Linked DNA regions of Homo sapiens: regions 1 and 3 are each linked to region 2. The links are contacts of gene promoters, found by promoter capture Hi-C in human tissues and cell types (Jung and others, 2019). All regions are on one chromosome and are shown on one strand. Each heading gives the region's core, a stretch centred on a gene start or on the middle of the fragment in contact. The rest is flanking DNA. Distances are from core to core; before and after follow the strand shown.

Region 1 (4,736 bases), core at 676-3,175, 170 kb after region 2:
CAAATCGGATCTCAAAAGTTCCCAGGGAAATGTGTTAACAGAAAACATGTAAAAGGGGGAAAACTGATAGAGCATGATGTTATATGTGGCCTTCTATAAGCTGAAAAGGACTTTGAGCTTGAAAGCAGGAATGGAAATAATTACTGTAATTTAAGGAGTAACCTCTTCATGCTAAGCATTAACAGATCACTTACTTACCTGACAGTGGCTACTATTTATTTTGTGTCTAAGCACTGTGCTAATTGTTTTACATATATTATTTCTAATATTCACAACACTACAAAATTACATACTATTATTTATTACTAATTATTAAAATTCCATCTTACAGATGAGGGAATCGAGACTCAGCATTTCAATAATTTGCCCAAGATTCCAGTTAGTAAGGAGCTGAGGTGGGATTTGAAGCCCAGGTCTCTGATCCCAAAGGCCATAGTCAGTCTTCTGTGCTTTACTCCATTTAATTGTGTATTCCCCTCATTTTCCTAGCACTTAGTAGAGAGGCCAGCCTAGGATAAATGTTCAACAGCAAGAGCGACCCCAAAATACAAATCTGATGACCTCCTTTTGCACTTAATCTAGATTGTTTACTAACAACCCTCCTCACCCTCAGCTCACTAGTCTTTGTCTTCAAGACAATCTCTTTCCTTCCCTAGAGCATTTGCCTGAGCTGCCCTTATACCTCTCAAGGCTCTTCTCACTCTTTCCATGCTAACCTCTTTATATCCTTTAGATCACAGCTTGCCTGTTCAGAGGCCTTCCTTGGCCATTCGATCTAAAATAGATCTCTCGTATTTTCTATGTCATCCACTTTTTCCCTAACATTTATCAAATTTTGCAGTTACCTTGTCAGTTTACTTTCTGGTGTTTTTCCAATATTATGCCCCATGGGACCAGCGACCTTGAATCTTGTTTGCCTTTGATTTCCCAGAGCTGTGCTCTTCAATACAGAAGCCAGCAGCCACATGTGGCTACTGAGCACTGTACTACAAATGTGGTGTTGCCTTATTGAGATGTGCAGTTAAGTGTAAAATACGCACTGGATTTTGAAGACTTGGTATGAGAAAAGAATGCATAAGATCTCGATTTTTAAATGTTGATTACATGTTGAAATACTTGTATAAACTGGGTTAAATGTATGACTAAAATTTTCACTTGTTTTACTTTTTAATTGTGGCTACTAGAAGATTTCAACCTACATATGTGACTCACATATTTCTAGAATCTGACACAGTGCCCTGCCCCATTTTATTGAATGATATATCCAATGTCGAGAGAGAGAGATCGAATGAATGGGTGCATGAAGAGGTATAGTCTCATGCTTCCACTAGGCAAATAGATACAGCACTGCCGTAGAAGTTAGGAGATCTGGGTTCTGGCTCAGGATGTACTGGAAACGCCTTGGACAAGCCCTACCCTACTCTGGGGATCAATTTGCCAATTAGGTAGTTGATCTTTGAGGTCTGGAAGCTTACGAGAATCAGTTGGCAGGGAAATGTACCAGGAAAGCTTGGTACAACGGCGCTTGTCTTTTTCGCTCTAGCCTAAACACTTGAGCCTCGGCAAACGGGCAGAGGCAGCGGGAATCAGGGACTACACCCCCGAACCCAGTACCCGGGTCCCCGACTTCCCCGAGCCTACGTCACTGGGGCGCGACGGCGTTGTCCCCGGGAGTGCAGCGGCTGAGAAGGTCCCTTCGGTGAAGGCGAGTTCCGGGACAACAGAGAGGGCCGCACCGTTTCCGAGTCTCTCGGAGGCTCAGTTCTCAGCGCACCATTCCCCACAGCTCTCCTTTTTACTTTACCCCTACCCGACACTTGACCCCGGCAGTGTGAACCCCGCTGGGAGCGTCCAAAGCCATGCCTCATCGCGGCTGCGCAGCGCACGTGCACAGCCTCGCAGGAGTCTCGGCGATTGGCTGTGACGCAGTTTCCGGCGTGAGCGGCGAAAGCCGGGAGGGCGAGCGAGAGAGCAAGCAGGCAGCAGGCTGCCGGCGGGCGGGCGGACGGCACAGAGGGAGGGAGCGAGCGAGCAGTGAGTAAGCCAGCAAGGGCGGTCGGGTCCCGAGGTCAGCCGAGATTTCTCAGGTCCCTCCGGCCCCCTCCCTGGAGTCCACAGCGCCTCCGGTGTCCAGAGGATCGGACACGGCCCGGCCCGGCCATGGCCTCGTTGCTGAAGGTGGATCAGGAAGTGAAGCTCAAGGTAGCGGCACCGGTCCGGCCTTTTTGCCCCTCGCTTTGATCCCCCAGCAGTCTGACCGGCTTCCTACTCCCCATGGCGTCTTTGTCTCCCTGGGGATACCAGCTCTGAGCTTCCGCTCGGCTCAGCCCAGCCCCCAACTCCCGGGGTCGGCTTCGCGGGAGAGGAAAATATAGGATGGCTTTCTGTACCGCGTCTGATGATGGAGAGTCCCGGGGACACCTCCGCGGACACGTGTTGGACTCAGGGCTTTAGGCCCGTGACAGCTGGTAATCCCCCAGCCCAACAACGTCCCTGGACACTGCCCCTGCCCTTGGCGGCTGGCCTGCCTAGTATCATAGACTAGGTCTGGGTGGGGGTTGGCACGTTTGTGAGCTCACATCTTCCCTAACTACCTGTCTTTTGTCTGCTTATCAAATTCAGACAGCTTCAGACACAGGAGGAAGGGAGGGAAGGGGGAGGACAGAGGAGACAGGCAGGTGCTGTCCTCAAAGCCCTGCGTTCTTCTGAGATGGAAAAATGGATCCTCAAAAAAATAAAGTATTTGCAGTCTGGGGGCCTCTCAGCTTCTTATTACAGTTACAAGGTGAGGGAAAGACAGTTGGATTGGGATTCTCCATCCTGCTCTTACCTCTGTCCCCAGGTACTGAATTGCTCTCTTTGTTAATTTTAGGTTGATTCTTTCAGGGAGCGGATCACAAGTGAGGTGAGTGAAATAAATAGAAAAATGGTTGTTGGTTGAGAATTTCCCAAAGAGGAGATACCTGGAGAGAGAGAGAGAGAGAGAGAGAGAGAGAGACCTTCCCACAGATATTAATTCAGCTGTATTTTCCCTCTTCCTTAGGCAGAAGACTTGGTGGCAAATTTTTTCCCAAAGAAGTTATTAGAACTTGATAGTTTTCTGAAGGTGAGAGACCCTATTCTTTCCTCAAATTCCCCAATTTTTTTGGCCCTGGTATTACTGTCAACTGGGATAAACTGTTGATTCTTCTTCTTTTTATTTTTTTAAACTGTAAAAGCACTTTCATTTCTTGCTCTTCAAATCAAATACTTCTTTGTTCAGCTTGAAAAGATTAATGTTTTGGGGTGGGTGTCTTTCAGGAACCAATCTTAAACATCCATGACCTAACTCAGATCCACTCTGACATGAATCTCCCAGTCCCTGACCCCATTCTTCTCACCAATAGCCATGATGGACTGGATGGTGTAAGTGTCCTATATTTATCTTTGTGTTCTTGAGCAGTAGGTCCTCTGTCCTCTGTTTCCTTGTCAGTTTAAGATGTACAGAGGGAACAGTGGGATTTGGATCTGGGAACTAGGACTCTGTTACAGACATGATGACTCTAGTATAGTTCTTTTATTTCTTATTTATTTATTTATTTTTGAGAAAGGGTGTCACTTTTTTTGCCCAAGCTGGAGTGTAGTGGCGGGAATGCTGCTCACTGCAGCCTTGACCTCCCGAACTCAAGCGATCCTTCCTCCTCAGCCTCGCAGGTAGCTGGGACTACAGGAGTCCACCACCATGCCCACTGATTTTTGTATTTTTTGTAGAGATGGGGTTTCACCATGTTGCCCAGGCCGGTCTCAAACTCCTGAGCTCAAGTAATCCACCCGCCTCAGCGTCCCAAAGTGCTGGGATTACAGGCGTGAGTCACTGCACGGGGACTCCAGTATATTCCTTTTAGACCCTCAGTTTCATTTACGACGTGAAGTGAATGTGCTAATGCTACTGTCAGTGTTAGAGTGAGTTTCAAATAAAAGAGAACTAGCTTAGGCCAGGCACCTTGGCTCACGCCTGTAATCCCAGCACTTTGGGAGGCCGACGTGGACGGATCATGAGGTCAGGAGATCAAGACCATCCTGGCTAACACCGTGAAACCCTGTCTCTACTGAAAATACAAAAAATTAACTGGGTGTGGTTGTGGGCCCCTGTAGTCCCAGCTACTTCGGAGGCTGAGGCAGGAGAATGGCATGAACCCAGGAGGCGGAGCTTGCAGTGAGCTGAGATTGCGCCACTGTACTCCAGCCTGGGCGACAGAGCGAGACTCTGTCTCAAAAAAAAAAAAAGAGAACTAGCTTCATCAGGTTACCTGGTTTTTCCCATGGCTCTGAACAAGACTTTGCTTATATTTGTTTGCATGTCTTGAGTAGTGTTATGGGATATGCAGTTCTCGCTATGTAACTGCAATTGCTATCTTTGCTTTGCATCTCTAACACCTAGTCCTTATCAGTCATGTGTCCACATGCTACTATAACACTGATGATACCGTATTGTTGTCTGTAGTACTGCCTCATTGTTGAACTTGTACATCTGGAAGGCAGGAACTATCTTTTTTTTTTTTTTTTTTTCCTTGAGACAGAGTCTCACTCTGTTGCCTAGGCTGGGTGCAGTGGCGCGATCTCAGCTTACTGTAACCTCCGCCTCCCGGGTTCAAGTGATTCTCCCACCTCAGCCTCCCACGTAGCTGAGATTACAGGTGCACACCACCACGCCCAGCCAATTTTTTTATTTTTAGTGGAGACAGGGTTTCACCATG
Region 2 (4,674 bases), core at 2,034-4,533:
GCTGGACCAAGCACAGATGTGGGTCTGGCTGAGCTCAGGCCACTAGCCTCGGAGTCACCCACAAAGGAGGAAATTATGCAGGGACAACAGAAAGTACCTCTGAGACCTGTGGTTACCAAGAAGGTAGTCAATGTGAAGGAACCAAGTAATTATCGAAACCAGACAGTAGAGTGTGGAGGAATTGTTCCATTTCATAGATCAGTATCATCAGCTTCCTGAGGAACATTTACTAAAATGGATTCTGAGAGTGACTAATTTAGGGGCAGTATGCAGAGTGGAAGAGCATGTTTGGGTTGATGCAGGACTCACAGTTCACCATTCTAGTCACAGTTGGGTATATATGATTCAGACACACAGGAGATTATTCCTGAGGGAACAGCCAGCCTGGTGGAATGTAGAAAAGTCACTGTAAAGGTCGGGCATGGTGGCTCACACCTGTAATCCCAGCACTTTGGGAGGCCGAGGCGCGTGGATCACCTGAGGTCAGGAGTTCAAGACCAGCCGGGCCAACATGGTGAAACCCTGTCTCTACTAAAAATACAAAAGTTAGCCGGGCGTGGTGGCTCATGCCTGTAATCCCAGCTACTCAAGAGGCCAAGGCAAGAGAATCACTTGAACCCGGGAAGTGGAGGTTGCAGTGAGCCAAAATCATGCCAGTGCACTCCAGCCTGGGCAACAGAAAGAGACTCTGTCTCAAAAAAAAAATTAGCTGGCATGGTGGCATGTGCCTGTGGTCCCAGTTACTCAGGAGGCTGAGGTGGAAGGATCGCTTGAGCCCAGGATTCCAAGGCTGCATAAAAAGTCTCAGAGGCTGGGTGCGGTGGCTTACGCCTGTAATCCCAACATTTGGAAGGGATCACAAGGTCAGGAGTTTGAGACCAGCCTGGCCAACATGATGAAACCCCGTCTCTACTAAAAATACAAAAATTAGCAGGGTATGGTGGAGCGTGCCTATAATCCCAGGTACTTGGGAAGCTGAAGCAGGAGAATTGCTTGAACCTGGGAGGCAGAGGTTGCACTGAGCTGAGATCAAGCCATTGCACTCCAGCCTGGGCTACAGAGTGCGACTACGTCTCAAAAAAAAAAAAAAAAAAAAAAGGCTGGGCGTGGTGGCTCACGCCTGTAATCCCACAGCACTTTGGGAGGCCAAGGCAGGTGGATCACATGAGGTCGACCAACATGGAGAAACCCCGTCTCTACTAAAAATACAAAATTAGCTGGGCGTGATGGTGCATGCCTGTAATCCTAGCTACTTGGGAGGCTGAGGCAGGAGAATCGCTTGAACCCGGGAGGTGGAGCTTGCGGTGAGTTGAGATCGAGCCATTGCACTCCAGCCTGGGCAACGAGAGCGAAACTCCATCTAAAAAAAAAAAAAAAAAAAGATTGTAACTTGGCTACTTGGCTGAGCATGGTGGCTCATGCCTGTAACCCAGCACTTTGGGAGGCTGAGGCAGGTGGATTACCTGAGCTCAGGGGTTCGAGACCAGTCCGGGCAACATGACAAAACCCCTGTCTCTACTGAAAATACAAAAAAATTAGCCGGGTGTGGTGGTGCACACCTGTAATCTCAGCTACTAGGGAGGCTGAGCCAGGAGAATCGCTTGAACCTGAGAGAGGCAGAGGTTGTAGTGAGCCGAGATCATGCCACTGCACTCCAACCTGGGCAACAGAGTGAGACTTAGTCTCAAAAAAAAAAAAAAATCTTAAGTGGCATTTACAGTGTTTGTGATTCTAGATCAGGCTACGTTTCATTCCATAAAATAAATAGAATGAGTGTTCAGATGAGTCAAGCACAGGTTAGTTTTTATGGACAAAAAAGGGTAGAGAAAAATAGAAACAGAAGGAAAAAAAGCAGATGGGTCCTTTCAAAGTTACTTTTCTTGTAAAAGGACTTCCGTATCATGCCGGCTCACACTGGCTTGTTTGGGGTTTTGGCTCTTCCTTCCCTCTCCTGATTCCTCTGAAGGTTTGATAAACAACTTAGTGTTGCTTAGTGACATAGAACTTTAGCGTGAGTGACTCCATTTTGGTTTGGTCTGTTGAGCCAAGCACAGGAGCTCAGTGCAAATCAATGGCCTCCTATAAAATTTATTTAACTGAACCCTTGTGCATTGCTGGTGGGAATTTAAAATGGTGCAGCTACCATGGAAAATCGTATGGCGATTCCTCAGAACATTAAACACAATTACCATATGATCCAGCAATTCTACCTCTGGGTGTATATCCAAAATAATTGAAAGCAGGGACTCGAACAGATATTTGTACACTCACATTCAAAGCAGCAACATTCACAATAGCCAAAAGGTGGAAGCAACCCAAATGTCCATGGAGGGATGAATGGTTATGCAAAATGTGGTACATCTATACAATGGAATATTATTCAGTTGTAAAAAGGAAGGAAATTCTGACACATGCTACGAAATGGAAGGATCTTGAAGATATTATGTTAAGTGAAAGAAGCCAGACCCAAAAAGACAAATACTGTATAATTCCACTCATATCAGGTGCCTAGAGTAGTCAAGGGGAAGTTACTGTTTAATCGCGATAGAGTTTCAGTTTGGGAAGATAAGAAAGTTCTAGAAAAGAATGGTGGTGGTGGTTACAGAACAATGTGAGTGTACTTGGTGCCACAGAACTGTATGCAGTACTTACAAATGGTTACAATGGTAAATTTAGGCCAGGAGTGGTGGCTCATGCCTGTAATCCCAGCATTTTGGGAGGCCAAGGCAGGAGGATTGATTGAGGCCAGTAGTTTAAGACCATCTTGGGCAACACGGTGAGATCCCCATCTCTATAAAAATACATTTTAAAAATTTAAAAATTAGCTGGGCGTGGTAGCACACGCCTGTAGTCCCAGCTACTCGGGAGACTGAAGTGGGAGGATCACTTAAGCCAGAAGTTCAAGGCTACAGTGAGCTATGATCGCGCCACTGCACTCCAGCCTGGGCGACAGAGCGAGACCCTTCTAAAAAATAAAAAGGTAACATACATGTGTATGTATTGTAACACCATTAAAAAACAGAAATTTAAACGAAGAAAAGTTGGCTTCTAGCCCTTTGATCTAGCAAAGCTGACAGTGTCCTCACCTACCAATATAGGTAGATGACTCCTTACACGTGGACAAGCACATCCACCTGGCCGCTTCTCCCCTTTCCTCCCCTCCCCCGTTCCTCTCCTCCCCAACACATCCAGGTTCCGACCCTGCCACCCCCAACGAGTCTCACTGCGCAGGCGCGGAGCGGTGGGCAGGAGCGGGCGTGGCCTGACTCTGCGCCTGTGCGGAATTCCAGCTGCGACTGCTGAGGGAGAAAATGATGCCCAGGTTGGGCTCCCCGGCCCACCGGCCGAGGAGAGGCCTGCGCTGCACACGCGCAGACCGAGCATCCGCGTCAAGAGGCGAAGAGAGCGCGCGCTCCCCACGTCCTGCGCTCCTGGCTGCCGGGCATTCGTCTCAGCCGTGACTCTCGCCAGGCCGGGGCTGGCGCGCCCACGTCTGAAGAGCGATGCCCCGGGAGATCATCACCCTGCAGCTGGGCCAGTGCGGCAACCAGAGTGAGCAAGCGAGCGCCGGCCCCGCCGGTCTCTGGTTCTGCCCCTTCGGGTCCCACCCAAGTGCCTGGCTTCCACCAGTCCCCCTTTCCCTTCCATGAACCCCCTGCCCTGCTGCTCTGGATAACCCAGACCGAGAGCTGCGCCTCCAGCCCGGGGCTGGGGCAGCTACCAAACCCAGGCATCTTGGGTCCACCCTCTGATCGTGTCAGCCTCTGAGACTAAAACTGGGCTCCTCAGGCCTTAAGGCTCCAGCAGACCCGGGCATCTCCCCCCTCCCCCAGTTGGGTTCGAGTTCTGGAAACAGCTGTGCGCCGAGCATGGTATCAGCCCCGAGGGCATCGTGGAGGAATTCGCCACCGAGGGCACTGACCGCAAGGACGTCTTTTTCTACCAGGTGCCCCCAGCGACTTGGCCGGGGGCGGCAGTGGCCCAAGGGGGCGGAAGGGAAGGGAGTGGCCTGGTACTGGGAACCCCGCTGGGCAGTAGGGCCAGGCGGCTGGCTTGAGGAGGGAGGGCCGGAGGGAGCCAGAGTTGGGAGGACTTCGGACTTGGGCCGCCCTAGCTGATTGGGCCCCCTCCTGGACTCCCCTTGACAGGCAGACGATGAGCACTACATCCCCCGGGCCGTGCTGCTGGACTTGGAACCCCGGGTGATCCACTCCATCCTCAACTCCCCCTATGCCAAGCTCTACAACCCAGAGAACATCTACCTGTCGGAACATGGAGGAGGAGCTGGCAACAACTGGGCCAGCGGATTCTCCCAGGTGTCCTAGCGACCATTCCAGAGACCTTTGATATTCCCATCCAGAGGCAAGGCAGGCTCAAGCTACTAGGAATTTGACCTGACTGACAGAAAATAAGAGACAAAAGGATGTCCCGAACAAGAGGGACAGCCAGGGAGAGGTTTATGCAAATTTTGTGCAAATCATTTGCAATAGTAGCACTTCTGGGTTGAGGGCTACAGCCTAGGCTCTGCTTCAGGGTGGCAACAATATTCCAGGGTAGACAGAATTCTTGGTGCTGTGCTGAGAAAAGATGCTCTCTGGAACCTTTGGCCTGACCCTCCCTTTCCATATCTCTATACAGGGTGAGAAAATTCATGAAGACATCTTTGACATCATA
Region 3 (4,577 bases), core at 1,749-4,248, 140 kb before region 2:
GAGAGGGTGTCTGCCTGGGGTCCCCCATAAAAAGACTGCTTTTAGCCTGTCTAGAGTGAGAGAAGACCCCAGAGGAGGCAGAGGATACCATCAGAATGCCCTCAGGTGCTGTTTGCAAGGAACAGCCTCCCCATATATGTCGTATTTATTTTGGCAATAGGAGTATTGGGTAGGAGAGGAAAAAACAGTGCAAACCTCCTTTGTGCAACTTCCAGAATCTCGTCTTTGGAGGGCTGTTCCCGTGACACGAGTGGGGCGCCTCCCCCACCACTAAAACAGAAGTGAATGAAATTGGTGCTTGTGCGCCCCCTCCTGGCAAAATGCGGCTGTGCGTCCAGGATGCCTGGATCTTCCCTGTGGCCCAGGACTGCAGGAGGCGTTCTGAGCTGTGGCCCTCTTACCAGGGGTGGAGCCTCTGGGGCTGCTGAACCAGCTGTAGGGATGGTGCTGCTGTTCTTCCTGGCATCCATCCTAGGCATCTTCATACCTCCCACTTTATCCCTGCTGTTTCCTGATTCAAGGGCTGCCCCATTATACAAGTTCTGGTCTCCTCAGTGGGGACAATAAGAAAAACATTTGATTCGATAACATATAAACCACTAGTGTGAGATTCATGCAGCATCATAGGAAGGGGGGTGATGTGTTTGAAAACAGTGAGCAGGCTAATGTATTAATCTGCTAATTCTGTCTCCTGAGTTTTCTCTCTTTTCCTCCCTCCTGCCACATGAAGTGTGCTTGGCTTCTTACCTACCATAATTAGACATCTTTTCTTCCTCAGAGAAGGCATGAGACAGGGATTTGATTGTAGTTATCACTGTAAACATCAAACTGATTTTTATGCAGAACTATTGCCCCAGGGCATACCTTCCAAGGAACCTGGTCTCTCCTTACCTAGCGAATTCCACATACACATAGATGTACACCTACCTGTACACTCACAGATTGGGTGGTGATTAAAGGGACAGAATCGGGGACCAGCTTCTTGTTAGGAATGCAGTGTTGCCACGGCATGACAGCATGGAGCAGTTGAGGGAATGGCTGCCCAGGAGAACTCAGAACTCTTGAAATGTAGTTCCAGGCTGCCATCATTGCCCTGATATTCAGGCCGTCAGACAGATGTGTGTTGTAGGCCCTGAACGGCACAGAGAGTGGCAGAACAGGCTACATAAACAGCTCAGCCCAGAATTGTCTTTCCAGACTGCCTGCCCTCAGTCACAACCCCCACCAGGGAAGGGAAGCGGCCCCAAGACTCCTTCCTCCTTCACCCACTCGAGGAAACAGAGTTCCTGTTACGTGGCATGAATGATGTCTTTTGGCCCCAGTTAATCCCTCTGAGTCACCAGGTGGCCTTTGCCAAGTGCTGGAGCTGGAAGAGATGATAGAGACACTCATCTGGCGTCCTGAGGCTCTCCTCACAGCTGTTGAATTCTAGAGGTGCATTTCAGTGTCTTGGGGCATGGCAAGACTTTGGAGGCTCCCTGAGCAGAGCAGTGGAGATGCCCAAAAAGAAGGAAGAACCTAGGATGGCAGATGGGGCCCCCCTTGCCCTGGGGAACTTCATGTTTGTACTTTCTCAGGAAGCACACATTTCCCCAGTTCAGCGGGAGAGAGTGGGGAGACTAGCAGGGAAATTGCTTTCCAGCTTTGTGCTGGGTGGTTGGGGTGAGGGTGGCCACGGAAGGAGGTGAAATCAGGCTGACCTCAAGATAGACCCAAGATGTCCCAGTTCTGGCCGCTCTAAGTCTCTAAAGCAGCAGCTGGTGGGAGGGGCAGTATTGGGCAGTATGTCAGGGAGGCCACCTGTCTGCTCACACAGTACAATTGATGTGCCCCTCCCAGGCATATATCCCTCTTCCTCCTTGCTGGGCCCCCATGGGTAGATAAGGTGACTGGAGGGGTGCCAAGAAAAGGGCGGTGCCCCCACAGGCATCTGAAAACAAAGCTGCTGCTCCATTTGCCCAGTTTGAAGATTAGAATGGTTTTGTGATTAGCCAGGAGGGGGTGGGGGTCAGAGTTCTGGACACCTCACTGGAGTCGGGGGTCAGCATACCCTACCAAGGCTGACATTCACTCCTAGGTAATGGCCTGGGACCCTCAGGTGACTTGTCCACTCTCTGGCTATGTATTGTTGAATGAAAAGGGGACATGTAAATCTCGTTTCAGCTGTTCTGAAATAACCCTTGCCACATGGGAACACAGTCTATTCAACATGAAGAATTCAAACCTAACACAAGTGGGTGAGAAGCAGGAACCCACTGCTAGGCCCCACCGCGTTCCCTCAGAGGTGGTCTCAGTAGCTGGAACTTGGAGAAGTAGTTTTGGTGGGGTGTTGGGACGTGGGTGAATCCAGGTCCTGGTTTGGAATTGCTCTGGTGGGAACCGTCAGCTAACGTCAGTTGGAAGCTCTGTGTCCTCCCCCTCCTGAGTCCTGTTTTTCCTGGAGGACCTTGGCCCACCCCTGTGGAATGTGGGGATGTGGGGAAGAAAGCTGACTGCTTTTACTCCCACTCAGAAAATTCGGTTGCGCTCTTCTTCAAGGGGGTGCTCCTCAGCCTGCACCCCAGTGAAGGGGCCTCTGAGGAACTCCCAGTGCCACTGGCAAACAGTCTGTAACCTTTGGGCCCCAGCCACCTCCCAGCCCCTGTTCTCTTAATTCCTGCCTTCTTGGCTTGGAGGGAGGAATCTCCATTTGTAAAAGCTGAGTTAGGGAACTAGAGGGTTCCTGAAGCTTTAAAGCGCCTCAAAGCCCTCACCCTGCACGTGACCTGTCACCTGGAGCCTGCCCCAGCCCCCACGCCTGCCTGTTCTTATAGGGGCTCCGGTGCCTCCAGGGTCACACAGCACCATGTGGAAACTATTCCTCAGGGCAGCTCTCCTTGGCCTTTTTATCCCCTGAATCATGCATTTTTCTGCCCTTATTTGGTGTGGTTTGGTTGCTGGGCAGCTGTCCAGGGTGAGTTTGCAGGAGGAAGCACAGCCAAGCAGCCTCGCTCTGCTTATGGGACAGTCTTCCTCCCACCCTCCCTGAGAGTGAAAGGGCCCCACAGAGACCATCAGGCATGGATGCTGAACTGCTGGGAAGGGAGCTCAGGCTTTTTCTTTTTAGTCCCCAAGAGAAGAATTCTTTCTCAGATGTTTTTGTGGTTGGAGAATATTTTTGCCATTGCTTTGAGAAGACTTCCCCTCCTAACTCCCCCTCTTTCCTTGGAATTTCCTTCCTTAAATGGAAAGCCTTCAACATTCACTCCAAGCTCGCCCTTTTGCTCCCCCAAGGAAAAATAACAAGCAAACAGAGGTGCTTGCCCAGTGTCTCTGGAGGGGCTTCCCTTAGAGGTGGGCTGTGTGATCCCCTGCCAGGAGGGGGCGATGGGGGCCACTTGTTCATTAACGATGTTAGGCTCAAGGTAACTGAACTTTTTTTGCACATGCCTCTCTGCAGAGAGTTGTGCATAAACACACTGCTCGGCAGGACAGAGCAAGATTGGGAACTGAGGGCAAATCCCTTCCTCCGTGCGTCGAACTCTTGATCCCAGGCCTTAAAAGTGGGATCTCTGCACTCTGGGCTTTCTCTAGCTTCCCCAGGGAAGGGAGGCTCGGGGTGAGGTGGGCACGGGGCATCTTTCCTGCCCAACTGTGAAGTCCTAAAAAGCTTCACAAAGTTTCTATTGAATGACAGCTTTCTTCTTCTCTTTCTCCAGGGTTGAGTTCCAGAATAAATTCTACAGCGGGACCGGTTTCAAGTTCTTACCCTTCTCCTTCGAGCATATTCGGGAAGGGAAGTTTGAAGAGTGAGTCCCTGTGAGGGCCGTGTGCCCCATGCTACCCTCCCCGCCTCCCTCCACAGTGATCAGCTGTGCCTCTCTGCCTGTTGGTTGTGATCTGTGGGCACCAGCTCATTCGTGTCACCCTGTCTGTGAGTCATTTAGATAGAATAGTCCTCCTTGGGTCTCCCACCACCCCTAGCTTTGTGTGTAGTGTAGTGATTTTCTGGCTGTCACTCATACTCACTGGGCACCAGCCTTGCCCTCTTAGCCTCCATCCATCCAGACAGCCCTTCCCACCTCCTGGTGGTGAGCCAGTCTGCATTCCCACGCCATCCCAAAGCCCTTTCATCTTCCCCGTGCATTGTAGATGGAAGGAGCACCCATGCCATTCACATCTAGACTTTGAGTTCCCTGCATCTGCCACCGTAGTTTCTAGCAGGAGTAGTGGGGGGAGTAATACAGATTCTTCCCTAGAAGGGGACACTGGTAACATGTCCCACTCTTGGATTAGCAGGGGTGGGTCCAGGAAGATGATATTTGCGTCTTTTGCCCACCCCCCTGGCATTCAGCTGGACCCAACTAGGCCATCATGAGTGGCTTCTCCCTGTCATCCCCAGGGGTCATAGGATATCTACACCGCCTTTCTGACCCCACCCTGCACTCCCATCCTTTCCTCTCTCCCCGTTCATGCCCTGCACTACATAGCACAGCCGGGATGCTTGGAACAGAGGCCTTGGCTGCTCCGCAGTGCACAGGGCTTCCCTCTCTCGGGGTTGGCTTCTTCCCAGGCCTTGCATGGGCCCTGCCCACAAG

What was found. The method cuts DNA at HindIII sites, captures the fragments that hold promoters and counts their contacts. A contact is called where the count stands out against the background at its distance.
Region 1: a contact is called between the fragment with the promoter of PSME3 here and the fragment with the promoter of TUBG2 in region 2, in 2 of the 25 tissues and cell types used here (lymphoblastoid cells and neural progenitor cells).
Region 3: a fragment that was not itself captured here is called in contact with the fragment with the promoter of TUBG2 in region 2 in 1 of the 25 tissues and cell types used here (spleen).

Annotation. Positions count from the first base shown.
Region 1 is chr17:42,831,472-42,836,207 of GRCh38, forward strand. PSME3 (proteasome activator subunit 3) reads left to right here and starts at 1,926. Exons shown (of 11, transcript NM_005789.4): 1 at 1,926-2,202; 2 at 2,873-2,905; 3 at 3,044-3,106; 4 at 3,301-3,405. The coding sequence starts at 2,161. RefSeq lists an enhancer at 1,574-1,743. The HindIII fragment of the contact is 9,549 bases long and covers 1-4,736 here.
Region 2 is chr17:42,656,001-42,660,674 of GRCh38, forward strand. It overlaps TUBG2 (tubulin gamma 2), which reads left to right and starts at 3,284. Exons shown (of 11, transcript NM_016437.3): 1 at 3,284-3,552; 2 at 3,834-3,946; 3 at 4,149-4,316; 4 at 4,639-4,674. The coding sequence starts at 3,504. RefSeq lists enhancers at 3,116-3,883, 3,241-3,300, 3,311-3,380, 3,431-3,500. The HindIII fragment of the contact is 23,957 bases long and covers 1-4,674 here.
Region 3 is chr17:42,517,329-42,521,905 of GRCh38, forward strand. It overlaps ATP6V0A1 (ATPase H+ transporting V0 subunit a1), which reads left to right. Exons shown (of 22, transcript NM_001130021.3): 22 at 3,699-4,577. The coding sequence ends at 3,792. Among named protein-coding and RNA genes, the nearest start is that of MIR5010, 5.4 kb to the left of the region's middle. RefSeq lists a silencer at 222-271. The HindIII fragment of the contact is 4,137 bases long and covers 931-4,577 here.